Linked DNA regions of Homo sapiens: regions 1 and 2 are each linked to region 3. Evidence: promoter capture Hi-C in human tissues and cell types (Jung and others, 2019). All regions are on one chromosome and are shown on one strand. The core of a region is centred on a gene start or on the middle of the fragment in contact, and the rest is flanking DNA. Distances in the headings are between cores, read along the strand shown. Region 1 overlaps ZBTB46 (zinc finger and BTB domain containing 46). Region 2 overlaps TPD52L2 (TPD52 like 2). Region 3 holds the start of ZBTB46 (zinc finger and BTB domain containing 46).

Region 1 (4,420 bases), core at 681-3,180, 63 kb after region 3:
TGAATCGAGAACTTTAACTTGATTCTGGATCGAGACTGGAATTGTGAACAGTTGCCGACTAAAGGGCATTTGGTGGACATGGTGCTGCACTTTCAGGTGGTCCAGGCCAGCGTGCCTTGGCGTTCTCATCAGGAGAGCATTTCTGCAGTCCAGAGGTGTTCACGCTCCGACTTCCTCCACCAAAACCCTCTGTTGGAATCACTTGGCTCCTAGGAAAGAGACACACCGCAGAGAAGTCATGGGTGGAGACCTCGGGCATTTGGGGTTGGCCAGCTGATCAAAGCGTTCAAACACCTGCCTCCAGCGAGACCCTTGGGGCATCACCGGGCTCACACCGCATGCCGGGAAGATCGTCAGTGCTTCTGGAACTCTCTAGAACCCAGCAGCTGGTGCGCGTTCCTGTGGGTGAGACTCCTCCTTTCCTGTGTTCCCAGGGCCTGGGTCCCTTGTGAGGGTCGCTGATGGCAGAACAGAAGCCCCTCCACCCTCCACCCTCAGAGCCACAGGATGAGCTCTGGGGAACCGCCAGACCCAGCCCAGGGAGCCGGCACAGCCTCCCCCAGCTCAGGTAAGACACCAGGGTGGCCAGCTTTGTCTGGGGCAACTGGGCCAAACACTTGGGGCATGGTGTCCCTGACACCCATGTGTGCGTGGCCACGGCCCAGATGAGCCCGGGCACCTCCGAGGAGGCACTTTGGTGGCACCTGCTCTCCATGTGCCCTCCTCTCCCACCCTCAACTCAGCCAGGTACAGAGAAAACCCATTTTAGGTCAGCCGAGTTATTCGCTTTTGCAATAGTAATTGTTCCACTCCCACAGCAACAGGTTGTATGAAGTTGAATTGGTTTTTATATTTTGAGCAATTTTTTTCCCTTAATGTAAAGACATTCAATTCATGTTGCAGTGGGTTGGAAACATCAGTTCCTAGAGCTCAGTGGTGGTGGCCGGTCCCTTCCAGGCCTGGTCACTGCACATTTCTGGCCAACCCCCGACTCGGAGGCCACTGCCCCAGTCCGAGCCTCACAGAGCCCTGGTGGAAGCCGTTCCACTGCCCCAGCCCGAGCCGCGCAGAGCCCTGGTGGAAGGCATTCTCCTTCCTGTGCCTGAAGTCGCGGAGTCTTTTCTATAAAGAAAGGGCCATGGGGTGTGTACCTCCCTGGAGAAAAAAAAATTCTTTAACAAGAGCTCAACCACTTTTTTTTTTTTTCTTTTGAGACAGAGTCTGGCTTTGTCACCCAGGCTGGAGTGCAGTGGTGCGATCTTAGCTCACTGCAACCTCCACCTTCGGGGTTCAAGAGATTCTCCTGCCTCAGCCTCCCAAGTAGCTGGGATTACAGGTTAGGGTATCCCGTTGGGCACACCACCACGCCTGGCTAATTTTTGTGTTTTTAGTAGAGATGAGGTTTCACCATGTTGGCCAGGCTGGTCTTGAACTCCTGACCTCAGGTGATCCGCCTGCCTCGGCCTCCCAAAGTGCTGGGATCACAGGCATGAGCCTCCTTGGTCTCCCAAAGTGCTAGGATGAGCCTCGGTGCCCAGCCTTAACCACACATTTTGGATTTTGAAATTAATTGCTATTCCCACACGAGTCGTTTCTCATTTCTCACAGGATAGTTTTGGTGGCAGGTGTTAATGTTTTGTTAATGCATATATTTTTGAGTGTCTCTTTATTGAGAATTAATTACAGTCTTCCTTTCCAGATGGCTGTTGACAGGCTGTCTTAGTAGTGATTGGACAACATCCCAGGTGAGTGAGGGCAGCAGAGTGTCCACACTAGAAGTCTTGCTGCTTTTATCCCATCCTGACGGTCTGTAACTTGTCTGTCTCTGGTTCCAGATCGACACCTCTCATGGCGTGGAGAGCTGGGCGGAGCAGTCCTCTTCCAGAGTTGGCTCCCGCTGGCATGAGGGTGGGTTTCTGCAGGGCCTGTGGCCTGTCCAGGATGCCTGAGGAGTCTTCTTCCAGCCCAGGCCTGGATGGACTTGCCCAGCCCTGGATGGACTTGCCCAGCCCTGGGGGCAGCCAGTGCCAGGACGGCTTGGCCTCGCCTGGAGCTCCTTGGGCGCTGACAGCTTTACCCTGAGGCCAGCTAAGGAGCTCTGTGAAGCAAGTGACAGCAGCGAAGGCACCTCCCCTGCTGGAAGTGGTTTGGGACAGAACTGCGGGTGCCTCTGGTCTGTGCGCTGGAGCCGGCGTTTGCTTTGACCTCAGTGCTGCGGCCAGAGCTTTGGCGTCCGGGTCCCGGGCTCCAGCTGGGTGCAGCTGCCCAGGCGAGAGAGCTCTCAAGTGTGTGGGAGCAGGAGGGGAACTGGGTGACCGAACAGCCGCGTCGGAGGGGGATATCTGCGGAGAGCTGTGACTGGGAGCCGGTGTGTGCCTTTCTGTGGTCATTTCTCGAGTCCTCTGCCGGCTGCTGCCAGGTGAAGGCATCTCCATGCCCAGCCGGTGGGCAGCTGGGGCGGGTGGACCTCCAGCTTCTGCCCGACGGGGTTCAGATGACCGAGATCCTACGGGATTGCCAATGTGTGGGGACGGGGGGCTTTCAGGGGCGGGAAAACATGTCCCCATCCGTGGGAAGTGGAGCCACGTGGCTCCGACCCAGCAACTTTCTAGGGAGATCGAAAGACAAAGCCTGCCACGGCGTCCTTGGCGGTGTGTGCCTGGCATGTGCGCGGCGCTCCACGTGTCGGCGTGGAATTACGGGAATGTGCTGCTTTTCAGAAAGAGCGCCCCGCGGTGCCCTTGCCCGTCCTCGTCGGACGTGTTAGGTTCAATGTCAGCTTTCTATTCAGAGCAGGTGGTTGTGGACTTGGTGGGCTCCAGGGACCCAGAGCAGCAGGTGGGCTCAGGAGGGGGATAGGCATCCCCCATTCCAGATTCTGGAATACCCAGAAGCACCATCTGGCAGGGAAGGTGGCGTGTCGGGGGAGCCCGCTCCCAGGCCAGAGACGCGTCCCACCATCTGCCCAACAGCCCATCCCCTTTCCGGACGGTCCCCATCTCCACTGCAGCTGGAACCATCTGCTGGAGCCTCCCCTGGTTCCTCAAATCTTTATGTTCCTTTATGTTCCTGAGATGAGTTTCTGAAGATGGAGAAAAGTGGGATTTCTAGTGAGGTTTGGGGCATTTTACCAAAGGTGACCGCGCTCTGCTGGCATCTGTGAGGGTCGGGAGAGCAGTCCACACAGGCCGTGCCTTCTGAGCTGCCAGACGCCTCTTTATGCAAATGCCTGTTGGAGTTTTAATATCAGTTGTAGAGAAAATGAAGCTTTTTTTTTTTTTTTGGTCAAAATGGGATCTCTTGGCCAGGTGCAGTGGCTCATGCCTGTGATCCCAGCACTTTGGGAGGCCAAGGTGGGCGGATCACCTGAGGTCGGGAGTTTTAGACCAGCCTGGCCAACATGGCGAAATCGTATCTCTACTAAAAATAGAAAAATTAGCTGGGCGTGGTGGCGGGCGCCTGTAATCCCAGCTATTTGAGAGGCTGAGGCAGGAGAATCACTTGAACCCGGGAGGCGGAAGTTGCAGTGAGCAGAGATCATGCCATTGCACTCCAGCCTGGGCAACGAGAGCGAAACTCCCTCTCAAAAAAAAAAAAAAAAAAAAAAAAAAAGGATCTCTCAGCTGTTGGGCCTGAGATGATATGTCTCAACCTGGGCACCATGACAGAAGAAACTTGTGGCATCTGACTGTGAGATTAGTCCACGCCTGGGCTCTGCGTTCATGGGCAGGGCACACCCTAGTGCTGTTGAAGCAGGTACATCAGAGGCCGCATGACAGCTTTGCCTTTTGCTCTCCAGGGTGGGCAGCAGGTGGGCCCAGCGGGGAGAGAGTTGTCTTGGGGGTTGATAAGGAGGCCTGGTTGTAGAGATTCTCTCCGTACCATTTTGCTGAAAGAGTTTGGTTAACTTTTTGAAAACAATTTAAAAATTGTAGACATGTGCCATAGAACCTAAAAAAATATGCTCGTGGCAGATAGTAAAATGATAAGGGCTCTAAGAACATTTTTAGAATAGATAGCAGTATGACTTTATCCCTACTTCTAACATTCTTTCCCCTGAAACTACACAGACATTCATTCAGCATATGAAGTGGGTGCAATGGCTCATGCCTGTAATCCCAGTACTTTGGGAGGTTGTGGCGGGAGGATTGCTTAAGCCTGAGAGTTCAAGACCAGCCTGGGCAACATAGGGAGACCTTGTCTCTACAGAAAAAGTTTAAAATTAGCTGAGCGTGGTGCTGTGCACGTGTGGTCCCAGGTACTCGGCAGGCCGAGGAGGGAGGATCGCTTGGGCACAGCAGGTCGAGGCTGCAGTGAGCCATGATTACACCACTGCACTCCAGCTGGGCCACAGAGTGAGACCCTGTATCAAAAAAGAAAAGAAACGCCCACACATAACCTACCCGGGAAGGGGGCCAGT
Region 2 (4,290 bases), core at 376-2,875, 45 kb before region 3:
GACAGCTCTCGCCACAGAACTCAGGGGAATGGCCTCGGCCAGGTGATGCACTGGCCATATGCTTCCATGCTGAGCCACAGGTTTCTCCAGAGGGGTCGGGACGCTGAGTGTTGTAATAAGCTCTCTAAAACACTATTTATTTGAAATAGGATCCCGGCAGCTTTATGTCAGTTGGTTTTACAAAACAGCACTGAAGTCTCCTAAGACTATTTTCAGACTGAGTCTGCACTGTGCGTCCGCCTGATGCCCAAACTGCAAGGATGACCGTCACTGTCCCAACCTAGGAACCATCTGCTGCCCAGCAAAGTCACTGTTCAACAGCCCGAGACACAGCCCACCAGGGTCCCTAGAACACCCTGCTCAAGCCGGGTGCAGTGGGTCACGCCTGTCATCCCAGCACTTTGGGAGGCCGAGATGGGCGGATCACGAGGTCAGGAGATCGAAACCATCCTGGCTAACACCATGAAACCCTGTCTCTACTAAAAATACAAAAAATTAGCCGGGCGTGGTGGTGGGCGCCTGTAGTCCCAGCACTTTGGGAGGCTGAGGCAGGCGGATCACGAGGTCAGGAGATTGAGACCATCCTGGCTGACATGGTGAAATCCTGTCTCTACTAAAAATAGAAAAAATTAGCCGGGCGTGGTGGCGGGCGCCTGTAGTCCCAGCTACTGGGGAGGCTGAGGCAGGAGAATGGTGTGAACCCGGGAGGCGGAGCTTGCAGTGAGCCCAGATGGCGCCACTGCACTCCAGCCTGGGAGACAGAACGAGACGTTGTCTCAAAAAAAAAACCAAACAAACAAAAAAAACCCAGGGCAACATGCCATGAACCACCCGGGTCCCCAGAGCACCCAGATGTACAGCTGGCTGCTGTAGCCATGCCCACAAACCGCCCGGGTCCCTGGAATACCCAGGGCAACATGCCGTGAACCGCCCGGGTCCCCAGAGCACCCAGATGTACAGCTGGCTGCTGTAGCCATGCCCACGAACCACCCGGGTCCCTGGAATACCCGGGGCAACATGCCGAGAACCGCCCGGGGTTCCTGACACCAGCCTCCCACCGTGACACCAGACGCAAAGGCTCCATGTGCACGCAGTGCCAGCCTGGTCCCCCAGGACCTTCAAGACAAGCTCGGCAGCAACTGCTTCCTTTCAGACCAACATGGGAGGACTTTCTGCCCATGTTCTGTGGCAACGATTACAGCGCTTCCTTCTAAATAACAGATGAAAAAATCCCACAGAGACTATTTAAAAATATTCCCCTCCTCAGTTTAAAGACGTTATAATCAGATCAGAGCACAAGTAAATGAAGTGCTATTATCTAGTTTAAGGATCTCCAAATATTAGGAGTCACTCTGAACAACACCACTGACACACACATACAAAACTATCCACACTTGATCCACACTGGCTGATGCTCTGACAATGCAGTGCCTCCCAGATCGTGAGGATTTCAAATTTCCACCAGCATATCCTACACCATGCCCTCCACTCAAGAACTACCCCTAAAGGAGGAAAGGAATTCTGAGAACCCAACAGCTGGAGCTAAGCAGGGAAAAGGGTTAGGGTTAGAACAAACAAAAATTCGCCACCAACAAACCCAGGCCAAGTGGTGTTGTCCAGCTTGTGCACTGCCGGAAGCCAAGGAGCTCTATTAGTTAGAGATACAGCCAGGACCAGTGCAGGCCTCTTACATAAGGGACGCATATCAGGCAGAGGGGAGTTTTAAGTGTGGTCAGGTGGCTGAGTGAGTTTCTCTCAGCTACTATTCCCTGTTCCACAAAAGTTTAAAGGATAGTTTACCTGAGAGAAGAAAAGTTATAGGAAGAAAAAATAGCCAGCAAATACCAAAACAAGCTTTGTGCCAAGTGTGCACAGCCCCCTTCCCCGACTGAGTGTCAGGAGGCGGAGAGGAGGAAGGAGGAGGTGCTGATGATACAGGCACTCACAGGTCTGACTGGGTCACTTTCTCATTCCACTCTCCAAGTTTCTCAGAAGTTTTCACATAGCTAAAAACAGAAAGTCTACAGTGAATTATTTAGAAGAACAATTTTAACTCAGGCATCAAACTGCAGGTGAAGTTCCAGGGAAGACAGAGAGGGACCAGCTGGCAGGAACATCAACTCCACAGACGGCCCAAAAATGGGGTCCACTGCCTCAACCAGGCCCTGTGCAGGCCCCAGGCCGCCAGGTGAGCTGTGGGTATAGCGGAACTGATGTTCCCTTTTCTGTCACCTGGCAGTAGCCCCTGGTCTCTCGCTAGGAGATTCTTGGGCAACAGCACTGCTGTGGGGGACTGGAAGGGCACAGCCCACAGCTCCAAAACACCCTTGGGATTCAAAACTTACGATGTCCTAGGACAAAAACATGGGCCTCTCATATGTGAGATTTATGAAATGTGACCTGTTCTGTCTTTGTATAGGAACATGTCTTCTGGGAAACATTCCACAGCCACCCCAACCTTGAAGGGTATGTTTCAGAGAAGCCACGTGGACAGGGCCAAGTGAGAAAGCAGCACTCCCCAAATTCAGAGCTGAGCGACATCTGGGACAGGTGTCCCAGGGTTATAGGACCACGTCGTCATGTAGGACCACGTCGTCATCGGGGAGGGTCAGAGTCCCTAGGGTTGTGGGACCATATGGTCCTATATATAAATATATATATATATATATTTTTTTTTTTTGAGACAGAGTCTTGCTCTGTCACCCAGGCTGGAGGGCAGTGGCATAATTTTGGCTCACTGCAACCTCCGCCTCCCGGGTTAAAGAGATTCTCCTGCCTCAGCCTCCCTAGTAGCCGAGATCACAGGTGCGCACCACCACGCCCAGCTAAATTTTTTTATTTTTTAGTAGAGACAGGGTTTCTCCATGTTGGTCAGGCTAGTCTTGAACTCCTAACCTCAAGTGATACACCCGCCTCAGCCTCCCAAAGTGCTGGGATTGTAGGCATGAGCCACCATGCCCGGCCCATATGGCCATATCTGGGTCAGAGGCTGTGACCATGCCACACCCACAACAAGGACCACAGAAAAACCGCTCTTGCCAAGGACCTGATCAGTGCTCTCTCAAGTCTGGACCCTGAAACAGTCTTCCTATCATTTTCCACCAGGACAACTAGCCAGTGTGTCTGCCTTTTTAGAACACGTATATAAGCCGGATGTGGTGGCTCACACGTGTAATCCCAAGCATTTTAGGAGGCCAAAACAAGAGGATTGCTTGAGCCCAGAAATTTGAGACCAGCCTAGGTAGCAAAGCAAGACCCTGTCTCTATAAAACGTGAAAAAATTAGCCAGGCATGGTGGCGCACGCCTGTCATCCCAGCTACGAGGGGGGTTGAGTTGGGAGGATTGCTTGAACCCAGGAGGTTGAGGTTGCAGTGAATCATGATTGCGCCACTGCACTCCAGCCTGGGTGACAGAGCGAAACCATCTCAAAAAAGAATAATAATAAAAAAAAAAAAAAGGCCAGCGTGGTGGCCAGCACTTTGGGAGGCTGAGGTGGGTGGATCACAAGGTCAGGAGTTCAAGACCAGCCTGGCCAACATGGTGAAACCCCATCTCTACTAAAAACACACACACACACACACACACACACACAAAAAAAAAAATCAGCCGGGCGCGGTGGGAGGCGCCTGTAATCCCAGCTACTTGGGAGGCTGAGGCAGGAGAATCGCTTGAACCCGGGGGGCAGAGGTTGCAGCGAGCTAAGATCACGCCACTACACTCCAGCCTGGGCGACAGAGTGAGACTCTGTCTCAAAAAAAATAATAATAAAGTACACAAAAACTTAAAAATAAATAAAACACATGTAGACACCAAGCTTTTTGAACAAACAAGGCACAGTCGCTGGGCCAAGGGCTCAGAGCCTCTCTCTGGATCCTTCCAAACAGGCCACTCAACTCCACGGCTGCAACTCGTCCCTGGGCATGACGACGCCCCCCCACATGCCGGGGCACGTGTGGTGCCCGTTCTCTTCAGCCCCCAGGGGTGCGCCTGGGGCAGGTACCTACGCGCTAGAGACCTGCACGTCATGCCAGCTCCTGGACAGGTTCTGTTTCAGCTCCCCCAGGGTGGAGAGGCCCAGCCTCCTCTTGAGCTCTCCACAGTGCCTCTCCTTGGCTGCCAGGACCTGGCGCAGAGTGACAATTTCCTCTTCCACCTGCAAAGCATGCAGTTGACATGATGAGCCATCACTACTGCAGGAAGTGACTAACATCCTCATGCACAGTGCCATGAGTTACACAAGAACTTTCCGCTTACCAAAGCATTAACTCGTCCTAGGAATAACAGCATCT
Region 3 (3,928 bases), core at 661-3,160:
CAGCTGCTGCTGCTCTCCATCCCTGCATGGACAACGGACATGGCAAACCATCAACACTGCTCTCCTTGGAGGCTGTCTAGGGAGGTCCAGACATCTTGGGAGAGACTGGGGTTCTCTTTTGCGCAAGAGAGCATGGGCAGGCTCTGCGGGAGGCCCTTGGGGCAGGCATCAGGGCTCTGGTCCTCCTTGCTTTGGCTCGGTGGGCCCGAGCTCTCCTGTCTCCCCAGGCCTCCTTTCCTCCGTGGGGTACAACTGGGCTCTGGGTGGGCAGGTGGGGGCTCCTGCAGGCAGTGCTGTTTTCTCCAAGGGGGATGCACGTGACCCGCCAGACCCTCCTGGAAGCCGCCTCTTCTCAGGGTGGTTGTGCTCAGCCCCCACTTCCCGAAGGTCGGTGAGGCTGGGGCTACAGTTTCAGACCAGAGCAGGCAGTGCCACCGAGAGGGTGCCGCGCGAGGTAGGCCGGCGACGGGGCTTCCTGGGCCGCAGTGCCATCCCGGCGACCTTGGCGAGGGGATGGGAACGGGGTGTCCGCACAGCCATTTCCAGGCGCCCGCGACGGCAGTAAGGGAGTGTCCCAGGCGTTGGTCCCGGCAGCCACACCTCGCTTCGCCTTTGCTCACTCATGGAGAGCCCTCAGCCGCCTCCCACTGCCGCTCCTGAATGCGCCTCACACATCCAGATTTGAAAGCACCCATAGGGCCGCCGCCTCCCACCTCCCGAGGAATCCGCTGCGCTGGGCCCGCAGGGAGGCAGGCTGGACGGCCCGGGCGCCTCCCCATTGGTTGGCCGGGCCGGGCTCGACTCCCTCGCGCGGCTGCCGGCCACAGGCTCACCTCCCTTCCCGCCGCGCCCGGGGAGAGGAAGCGAGGTGGCCTTTACCCCTGCGCAGGCCGGCCAGGAATGCGGGGCCGCGCTTCCCACTCTACCCGCCCGAGGGCTGAGGACGGCGGAGGCGAGAAGCGACGCGCAGAGTCCGGGCGCCGAGTGGTGGAGACGCGTCCCAGGCCGTTCGGATCGGGGCTGCACACGGGCTGGGGCGAGGCCCGGGCCGCTGGTTCCCGCCCCCTCCCGGAGCCATTCGTCCCCCGCAGACAACACGACGGGAGGGACCCACGCGCGGCCGCCGGTGCCCCTAGTCAGCCAAAAGCGAGCCCCACTGGCGGGCACCCCCACGAGGCCTGCGCCCGAGGTGCGCCGATCTCCGGGTGCGCCGAGGCCCCCGAGGGTAGGCGCGCGCGGTGCCCAGGCCCTTCCAGACCCCGCACCCCGGGCGGCCTTCCTTGGGGGCGCCTTTTCCGCACCGCGAGCGGCCCGCGTTGATGCCCGGCCGGGCTGGGGGAGTCGCCAAGTTTGCGAGACGCGCGCAGTGCAACCGCGCGTCAGGCGCGGGGACGGCCGGTGACCTGGGCACCCGCGCGCCCCCGAGGAACCTGCGCGTGGGCAGCGCCCGGTGCGCGGCCCGGGAAGGGAGCGGGTGCCCTCGCCGGGGTCGCCGCTCCCGTGGGGTGTTTCCAGGCTGCTCCGCGCTCGCGGGGCAAGGGCGCAGCGGGGGCCAGGGGGACCCCCGCGCCGCGCCGCCCCAGCCCCCCGCCAGCCCAGGGGAGGGGGCTTCCCACAATGCCCAGCGAGCTCCAGCCCGCACTTCCGCTGTCCGGCTGCCCGCGGGGGGGAGAACGGACCCCCGGCGCGGCCCCCTGCGACCCCGCGGCGCGGCGCCGGGAGCCGAGCGAGGGGCGGGGCCGGCGGCCGGGCCGGCGTGGGCGGGGCCCGGGGCGGTGGCCGCGGCCGGGGCGCGGCGCGGGCCAATCAGCGGCGGCCGGGCGCGCGCCGGGGGGCGGGGTCAGGGTCCGCGGGCGGGGCGCGCGCGCGCGGGCGGCGGGGGCCGCGGGGTTGGAGCGGGCGCGGGGGCGCGCGCCGGCCTGACGGACCGACGGACGGACGGACGGACCGAGCAGCCCCGGCGAGCGCGCAGCTCGGACCCGCCCGGACGCAGCGCCCTCCCGGCGGCGGCGGCGATCACCGGCGCCGGCCCGGCGGCCGCGGCGCCCGCCCTCGCCCGCGCCCCATGGGGTCACAGGTAAGCGGCGCCGGCTCATTGTCCGCGCGGCCGGGCGGGCGCATCGCGGCGGGGGCCGGGCCCGGAGCCGGGAGCCGGGAGCCGGGGCCGCTGCGAGCCCGGGCGCGCCCCCGCCGCCGGCCGCCCCGCCACGCCCCGCCCCGCGGGGGCGCCCTCCCGGGGGCCATCGGCGCTCCCAGCTGCGGCGCGGGCTCCGGGGGCGGCGGCGGAGACCCCGGCCCGGCCCCCGCGGGTGCCCCCCAGGCCGGCGGCGCGGGGCGGGGCGCGCGGGGGCGGCGCGGGTTCCCCGCGGGGCTGAGCGCGGAGGCGGCTGGGCTGCCCCGGCCCCTCGGCCCCCGGCACCTCCCGCCGCCGCCGCGCTCCCTCCCCGGCACCTCCGAGAGGGGAATTTTCCAGCTGGTAATTTCTGCTGCGTCAACGCCTGGCCCCGAGGCAGCCCGGGGGCGTCTTGGCGCCCCCCGCCCGCGCCCCCCGCCGGCACAGCCCAGCCGCACCCGGAGCCGCCCGCGCCGAGTTTGCCAAGAGTCGGAACTGCGGGAGGTGGGCGCGGGCGGGTCCCGGCGCCCTGAGGCCGGGGGGTCATTGTCTCCCCGGACGCCGGGCGCCGGCCTGGTCTCCATCTTAATCGCCGGCCGAACCGGGGCGCAGGGGCCTCGGGGCGGGGCGGCTCGGGGCGCGGAGGGCTCGGGGCGCGCGGGGCGGACGGGGCGCGCGGAGGAAGCGGGGTCCGCTGCGAGCCGCGTCTTTGTTTCTCTGTAAATAGACATGTCAGTTTCGCGGGGGAGCGCGAGCCGGTGTCTGACAACTCAATCCCTAAGGCAAACGGGGAATTCTCTGCGCCAGAGGGAGGGCTCCTGCTAGTTGGGGTTCCCCTGGCCCCGCTGACAGATTCACTGTTTGTAGGTTTAACGAAGCACACACAATAGGGCTGGACCGAGGAGCCAGGGTACAGACCAGATGGGGCGAAGAACGGATATTTTCTGACAGCGAAGAAATATAAACAAAAGAAAGTTTGAGATTCGCAGCGAATTTCCTCTCTCGCTTTCCGTGCTGCAATCTCAACGATGCATTTGGAGTGGATTACGGTGGCAAGATTGTGATCAGCATTGTTTAAAGAAATGCTAATTAGAAACGTGTTTAGCGCGCGGCCTGGGCGCAGACACCTGTGCGCCGAGAACTCACGGGCATTTTAATTGTATCGATTGTAGAATCTTTCATATTGGCTCTATTATCAGAGCTAACTTCCCGTTTGGGTAACAGACTGGATACATCTCTGCTGCTGGCACTCACGCTGCCTCTGCAAGGCACTATTTCACTCTACAAGAGTGGAAAATAGTTTGTTCATCAAAAGGAAATGTATAGAAGGGGTTTTTCACATGAATAATGAAGCAAGCGACAGTATTTATCAGAGTAGAACCTTTCTGCTCGGTGTGTTTTACGTGTTTCCAACTGGCACTTTTGGGCACCTCAGCCTGGTTACCACTGCAGAAAGGACTGAGGAGTGAGGGGAGTACTTGGGCACAAGTTACTGCAAATTTAGGTGGGAACTTACTGTGTCCCCTAAAAAGCTAGACATCTTCTCCGTAACTGAAGGAAGAGGGCTGGGGAGTTACTGTCAGATTTCTCCTTGGGGCGTGGAATGCACTCACTTTGAGGTGTTTAGAAATCCGAAATTCCGCCTTGCCTTCAGGCCAGCCTGGGGACAAGCATTTAATTAAGCCTCTCACTGACAGCATTATCCTGAACGTGAGAGTTTTCTTTTGCTTAGATGAGGTGATTTCTGTTCGGGTTTAGCTGTTTTGTGTGAGGATGAGTCGTTCTGTGCTCAGACCTGAGTTCCACTCCTGTTTC

The links. Contacts are between HindIII fragments. The study calls those that stand out against the background at their distance.
Region 1: a fragment that was not itself captured here is called in contact with the fragment with the promoter of ZBTB46 in region 3 in 4 of the 25 tissues and cell types used here (IMR-90 fibroblasts, dorsolateral prefrontal cortex, liver and 1 more).
Region 2: a contact is called between a fragment that was not itself captured here and the fragment with the promoter of ZBTB46 in region 3, in 4 of the 25 tissues and cell types used here (adrenal gland, dorsolateral prefrontal cortex, lymphoblastoid cells and 1 more).

Annotation. Positions count from the first base shown.
Region 1 is chr20:63,765,398-63,769,817 of GRCh38, reverse strand. All of the region lies in intron 3 of ZBTB46 (zinc finger and BTB domain containing 46), which reads left to right. Among named protein-coding and RNA genes, the nearest start is that of ZBTB46-AS2, 24 kb to the right of the region's middle. The HindIII fragment of the contact is 8,976 bases long and covers 1-4,420 here.
Region 2 is chr20:63,873,532-63,877,821 of GRCh38, reverse strand. It overlaps TPD52L2 (TPD52 like 2), which reads right to left. Exons shown (of 7, transcript NM_003288.4): 3 at 4,006-4,154; 4 at 1,947-2,006. Among named protein-coding and RNA genes, the nearest start is that of TPD52L2, 10 kb to the right of the region's middle. The HindIII fragment of the contact is 6,379 bases long and covers 1-4,290 here.
Region 3 is chr20:63,829,246-63,833,173 of GRCh38, reverse strand. It overlaps ZBTB46 (zinc finger and BTB domain containing 46), which reads left to right and starts at 1,910. Exons shown (of 5, transcript NM_001369741.1): 1 at 1,910-2,077. RefSeq lists a silencer at 1,753-1,892 and an enhancer at 3,475-3,928. The HindIII fragment of the contact is 9,346 bases long and covers 1-3,928 here.